Linked DNA regions of Homo sapiens: region 2 is linked to region 1. Evidence: promoter capture Hi-C in human tissues and cell types (Jung and others, 2019). All regions are on one chromosome and are shown on one strand. Each heading gives the region's core, a stretch centred on a gene start or on the middle of the fragment in contact. The rest is flanking DNA. Distances are from core to core; before and after follow the strand shown. Region 1 holds the start of ARL1 (ARF like GTPase 1). Region 2 overlaps ANO4 (anoctamin 4).

Region 1 (3,069 bases), core at 374-2,873:
ACAAGTAATTAGTTATGTTACTATGTCCTTAGTTATGTTACTATTGTGTCATGCAGGCACAGAAGATAAACCAAATAATAAGAGAAATATGGCCGCGGCCTTTGGGAATCTCATTTTCTAATCAGCAGAATAGGAATATTTTAGCATGATCCCCTCACTACCCCTAAAAACCAAGGGGCCAGTAAGGAGGATAGTGGGACAATGTAATCCTCGCACAGGAAAAGTACTGTACAGCAGCAGTACCACTATAACCAACTTCAATCAGAGTTCTCCACGAAGCAATATAGCTAGTACAAGAAATTGAGAAAAAAGCTGAAAACAATAACTATTTTTGACAAAAAACCCACTTTTAAAAATAATAAAGCTCTATCCAATGCATCACAAAATATTCCCAGAAAGCTTCCTGTACACCAAGTATTGTGTAGGATAAAAAGCACAGTCCTTTTCCCATCCAGAGCCATTAGAGAAGATTAAAAACAAGTTACATTAATACAAAAAAAAATAGTTAACATCAGAAGTGATGCCACACTGTTATTTGGCAAAGACATGGCATAACTAAGAGCTGCGAGTTGAAAAATGAACAACACCATGGGCTAGAGAACCTTGGGAAAGTTCAACAGAATAGGTGTGACTTGACAAAGTCCTTTCTACCATTTACAGGTAGAAGAGAGGCGGAACAAAACTGAAGGCGGTTATGGAAGACAGGACAGCGCCTGTGATGCTTGGGAGCAAGAAGTATGCTCCCCAGAAAACTGTGGAGGGATTTAACCAAGCCAAAGAATCTGCACCTTCATTTGGAGGGTGAGAAACGAGTTAAAGAATGTGCACCCTCACTTGGGTTCTAGCGGGGCGAGGGTGTTACCTGATGCTTGTGAGAATGCAGTTCCCTCAATCAGCGGGCCAAGAACCAAGAATAAAGTTTCATTTGCCGACTAGAAATACCCGTATTATTACATGAAACGCTACAGCAGATTAGCAGACAAATGCCAAACTGGCCATAAAACAACATAAGCAACACCTGCTCTCAGGTTTTTCAAACTGACGCCGTCCCAGCGCCCCTGGTAAAGAGAATGATTAAGCTTCCACTCTGGGGCCGCAGCTCATCTTTCACCAAGAAACCTCGGCGAACCTGCGACTGACGCGTTGCCAGCCTCCGCAAGAACAACTCTGCCCAGCAAGTGGAGCTGGGGATGAGGGAAAACTTCATGATAAGGGTAAAGAACTCGAACCCAGGCTCTGCGGACGTCCCCAAGCTGTCCGGGTCCCTGGACCCCGCAGGAATCAAGGGGAACCGAGAGAGGACGGAGGAGAACGCGAGAGGCCGGATCCACCCCTACAGATGAAGATCCAAAGTGAGTCAAGTCCTCCGCGACCCGCCCCCTGAGGAGCTGGCTACTCTAGGGTATCCTGGCCGGCCCCTCTCCTCCTCTGCACCCCAGCCCTCGGCCGCGGCTCCCTCGAGCGCGCCCAGGTGCCCTTCTCGAACCCCTCACCCATGATGAACCCCCTGTCCTCCCTCGCCGATCTTCAGTGATTCCTTGGCCTTCGGCTGCAGCTCCGAGGCGGTTTCCTCGCAAGCCCAGTCAGCCAGCAACTTCCACGTCGGACTCCAGGCGGGGGCGGGAGCGAGGGTCAGCTGCGACTGCGCGCCGGGAACGGTGGCCTGAGCATCCGCGTCGTCGCTTTCGACTCACGGTCCCCGCTCACTGGATGTAGATACCGTGGAGGCCAGAAGAGACGAATAATTCAAAAACCTGAAGTCTCTCCTGCTTGTGTTTTTCTGGACAGAAAGAGCTTCTGAAATAGAGAAATTGGAATTTTTGTTTTAAATTCTGACACCAAAAAGTGGCGAATCTGACAACTGAAAATGCGAGTCGGGCCTCGATGAGTCGTCCCGGTCGAACGCTGGCGCAGGCTGCGGCGTTGCAGAGGACGCGTGTCCCGGAGCGCCCTGCGGGGCCAGCCCAACTCTCCCTAGGTGCTTTCTCCCAGAAAGAAACAAGACTACGTAATAATAATAGGAATGGTACCGCGCTGCCAATGCGGAGCAGCCTTGCACCTGAGGCCAGTAACCAGAGGTTTTTGTCTTCGCTGTGGCCTGCAGGACGAGGACCTCGCCGGCTTTTTTTCTCGCTGACCGAGCAGCTGAGACCGCCTTTCAGGGGTCGGCAGTGTGGACTGGCTGGTCCCGATCGTGGGGACCAGGGACTTATTCCCTCGAGGGTCGACTGTTGGAAGTAATGTAGGTTTTGATAGTGAAGTGTGTGGAGAGGAAGAAGGAAGCACACCTATAGGATGTGGAGAAGGGATTTCCCCTAGAGAAATTTTTAAAGGTTGAGCATGTATGTTTTGAAACTTCCCAAAGATCCATTGAAAAGTGAACCTTCCGGCCGGGCGCGGTGGCTCACGCCTGTAATCCCAGCACTTTGGGAGGCCGAGGCGGGCGGATCACGAGGTCAGGAGATCGAGACCATCGTGGCTAACACGGTGAAACCCCGTCTCTACTAAAAATACAGAAAATTCACCAGGCGTGGTGGCGGGCGCCTGTAGTCCCAGCTACTCAGGAGGCTGAGGCAGGAGAATCACTTGAACTCAGGAGGCAGAAGTTGCAGTGAGTCGAGATCGTGCCACTGCACTCCAGCCTGGGCGACAGAGCGACACTCCGTCTCAAAAAAAAAAAGAGAAAAGTAAACCTTCCATCCCTAATACCCTGTATCTCGGTGATCCCCAGTAGTCACTACTGTTAATACTCTCTTAGGTTTTCTTCCAAATCTTATTAATACCTTTGCATATTATGTTTTTATTTATGGTAGAGATTTTCATCCATTCAACAGAAGCTTATGGACTGCCTTTTTAGTTTATTTTAAAAGAATTTTTCTAGCTTTAAATAAAAATTGTATATATTTACAGTGTACCATGTGATGTTTTCATAGTTGTATATGTTGTGAAATGATAACATACCCATCACCTCACATAGTCGTGTGTGCTTGTGTGTATATGTTTATTTTGTGCTAAGAATATTTAAGGTCGGCCAGGTGTCGTGGCTCAGGCCTGTAATCCCAGCTCTTT
Region 2 (3,069 bases), core at 235-2,734, 570 kb before region 1:
CTGTTTTTGAACAGGTTATTTTATGAGTGAAGTCACTCAATGAGTATTTCTTGTGTTCCTATTATATAACAAGTCCCGTGTAGGGTCTATAGTCAATCACTTCCACCTGTGGAAAAATAATTAGCTTGTTTGGATGGGGATAGGGAGAAAGAAAACAATTTGGGGAGGGCACTGGGCTCCTCAGTGTGGTAACACAAGGCTGATGGAGAGGAAAAGAGTGTATGAAACTTTGACTGTAGGAGATGCTTAATATGTATTTATTACATAAAATGTATTAAAATAAACTTGTGGTTCTAGCTTCATTAGGTTGTGATAAGGTGGAAGGGCCAGTGTCCTGAGTGTCAGAAAACATGGGTTTTGCATGGCTAGCCCTGCCACCCAGCCACTTAGCTGTGACCCTTTGAACAAGCCATTTCACTTTTCTGGGCTGTGACTTCTTTATTAGTAGAGTGATAGAGTGGGACTAGATGATTTCTAAAATTCCAGACTCTTCTGATTTTTTTCCTGAAGCATGCCACTTGCATTTTAATGAAAATATTGATTGTTAATATTTATTGAGAAGTATAAATGTAGCGGGCTGGTACCGTCTTTATTCCCATATTACAAATGATTCCATTTGTAAGTTAACAATCCTTAAATCTGTTCTGGTGTCAGAGCCAGGGTTTGAACTGAGATCCACCAGTTTCAGGTATGCACATGTTTATGCAACACAGCCTCCAGAATGAAGGCTGATGAAGACAGGGACGCTCATTCCCCACCCCCCAATCCTCTGTGTAAGCTTTGAAGATCACTCTGGAAGAGTCTACCTGTCATGAAAGAACGCAGATGACTTTTTAAGAATATTTATGTAGTCTTATATTTCAGGGTACCTGAGAGGCCCTTTAAGGTCCTAAATTATTTTTTGTTCTATACAGGAATCCTTTCTGTAAAACCCTTGACTAAAACTGTCTCTGCTAAAGGATGGGTATTGGCAGGTGTTGGGGTGAGTTGACGAAAAAGCAAAACAATAGTTTCTGTGAAAATGCATGTTAAAGAGAATTAGCAGTAAATGAACGTGTGTTTCCTTAAATAACCCAACACCCCAATCCACCTAGAACCGATGACTTTTGCTAGTTTTTACCCATCACCTCAGGAGTCATTCTGGTTTCTTGGAAACGTGTAAAGTATCTGCTTAGGGAAATATTATTTTATGTTGCTGATGTTGGGAGGTAGCATCTACTTTAGTTGAGGAATAGTCAGCTAATAGTTCTTTTCTTTGCTGTGCTTTTGCTTATGTATTTGTTCAGACCTGCTGCTTAATGATTTCAGCTGGCCACCTGCCATGTCAAAATCACTTTCCTCTCAAGATCTGTGGAACCAATTTTATCTGAACACAATGGAAAGGAACTCACCATTTTGAGCTACATATGGTCTTAAAGATACCATCTTAAATAAAGAGAAAGTGAAGAAAACATGGTTTCAATCATTAGTTTCTTTCCCAGAGCCACTTTCTCCACCTCTAATATATTGTTTATTTTCTGCTAACACTTTAAACACTTATACTCAGTTAATATTTCAACTCTTGTGTGAGGAATTGGTTTTTATGCTTTCTAGCAGACAGATTGCCTGAGACTGACACTTCTGACCAAGTAAAATAAGCATATTTAAAATGCTCTGTAGCTTATTTTCGCAACGTATTTGTGAACACTAGAACTTCCATATGGAAGGGACTGGGGGAGAGGATGCACACAGTTTGAAAAACTATTCAGGAACTGGAGAGGGTAATGAAAATGAAAAAATGTAACTTATGGCCTCCAATCTATCTTTTCAAAAAGTAATTAAAAACTGAAAAGCAAAAGAATAATTACTTCTTAGTTTAATACCCCCATTCTAACACCTGATGTAATCATTAGGGTTTGATGCAGCTCAAGATAAACATTGTATAAAAAGAGTAATATACAAATGGAATATATTGTCATTCACATGCATAAATAGATTAGCTTACTATTTTAGAGCACTGATTCACTAATTTATATTCAAATTTGTGTTTCTTACCCAATTCATGTTTCTAGCCTCACTTCCATTCCTGAGTCATAGTCAGGATGAATAGTCATAGCCTGAAGATTTAAATTTAGATGTTCTACCATTTACTACCTCATAATTAATCTCAAGTTTTATTCACCACCCCTCCAATTAAGAGGTTCTTCTATTAGTCATTTGATCTTCTATCTCAGTCTTGCTTACACTCCCTTGAAACCACACTTTGATCTTGTCTCAAATCTAAGCTCCACCTTTGTCTTACTAGTTGTGGGTTCTTGAGGAAGGTGTCTAGCAGAGTGTCTGGCTCATAGTAGGAGATTTTAAAGTATTGTTTCTTTTTTCCTTGTCTCAGAGCCTCATCCTTCCCCACCCATCCAGATGATCCTGTTCATTATTCAAAGACTAGATCTGATCACTTCTCTTACATGGACCCCATGGGACTTGCATTCTTCTCTGAGCCAAATAAGGAAACGTATTTGTCCCTTAATAAATACTCTGATTTATTATTTTCTTTTTCATGTTGTATCATTGGAGTTTTTGGATACAAGCAATAGAAAGGATTTGGCTGACATGGGTAAAGAGAGGACCTTTTGGGAGGGCTAAGGTAGCTCACTCGATTCACCAGTCTAGAGAACCAAGCTTGGGAATGGATGGGAAGCAAAGAGGTATCACATGGGTGAGAGACGAGGAATCTGGTGAACAGTCTCATAACAGGAGCAGTTGTTGAGCAAGCCACCACCACCGAGGTGAATGAGCTCTGACTGCTTCTTCCACTGTTGTGGCAATTGCTTAGGGTGCAAATAAGAAGAGACTGTGTGATGGGTTCAGCCCAGCTACACCAGGGCAGTTAGTGGAAGGATCTGCCCTTTCGACTGCCCTAGTACGAGGCCAGGCACCTGAACTTATTATCACCAAAGACTTCACACAGCAGGAGACACAGAAGTCCCTGAAAGGAAGTCTGGATGCTGTTAGGAAGGAGAAACTGAATTGCAGTGACCAGACCACCAAAACGTTCCCTACCATTTTTACCCTTCAAACTCTGGAAATTTT

What was found. Contacts are between HindIII fragments. The study calls those that stand out against the background at their distance.
Region 2: a contact is called between a fragment that was not itself captured here and the fragment with the promoter of ARL1 in region 1, in 1 of the 25 tissues and cell types used here (dorsolateral prefrontal cortex).

Annotation. Positions count from the first base shown.
Region 1 is chr12:101,406,149-101,409,217 of GRCh38, forward strand. It overlaps ARL1 (ARF like GTPase 1), which reads right to left and starts at 1,624. Exons shown (of 6, transcript NM_001177.6): 1 at 1,494-1,624. The coding sequence starts at 1,497. RefSeq lists enhancers at 1,107-1,156, 1,237-1,286. The HindIII fragment of the contact is 11,101 bases long and covers 740-3,069 here.
Region 2 is chr12:100,831,394-100,834,462 of GRCh38, forward strand. The region is part of intron 1 of ANO4 (anoctamin 4); the gene reads left to right. Among named protein-coding and RNA genes, the nearest start is that of ANO4, 38 kb to the left of the region's middle. The HindIII fragment of the contact is 4,551 bases long and covers 1-3,069 here.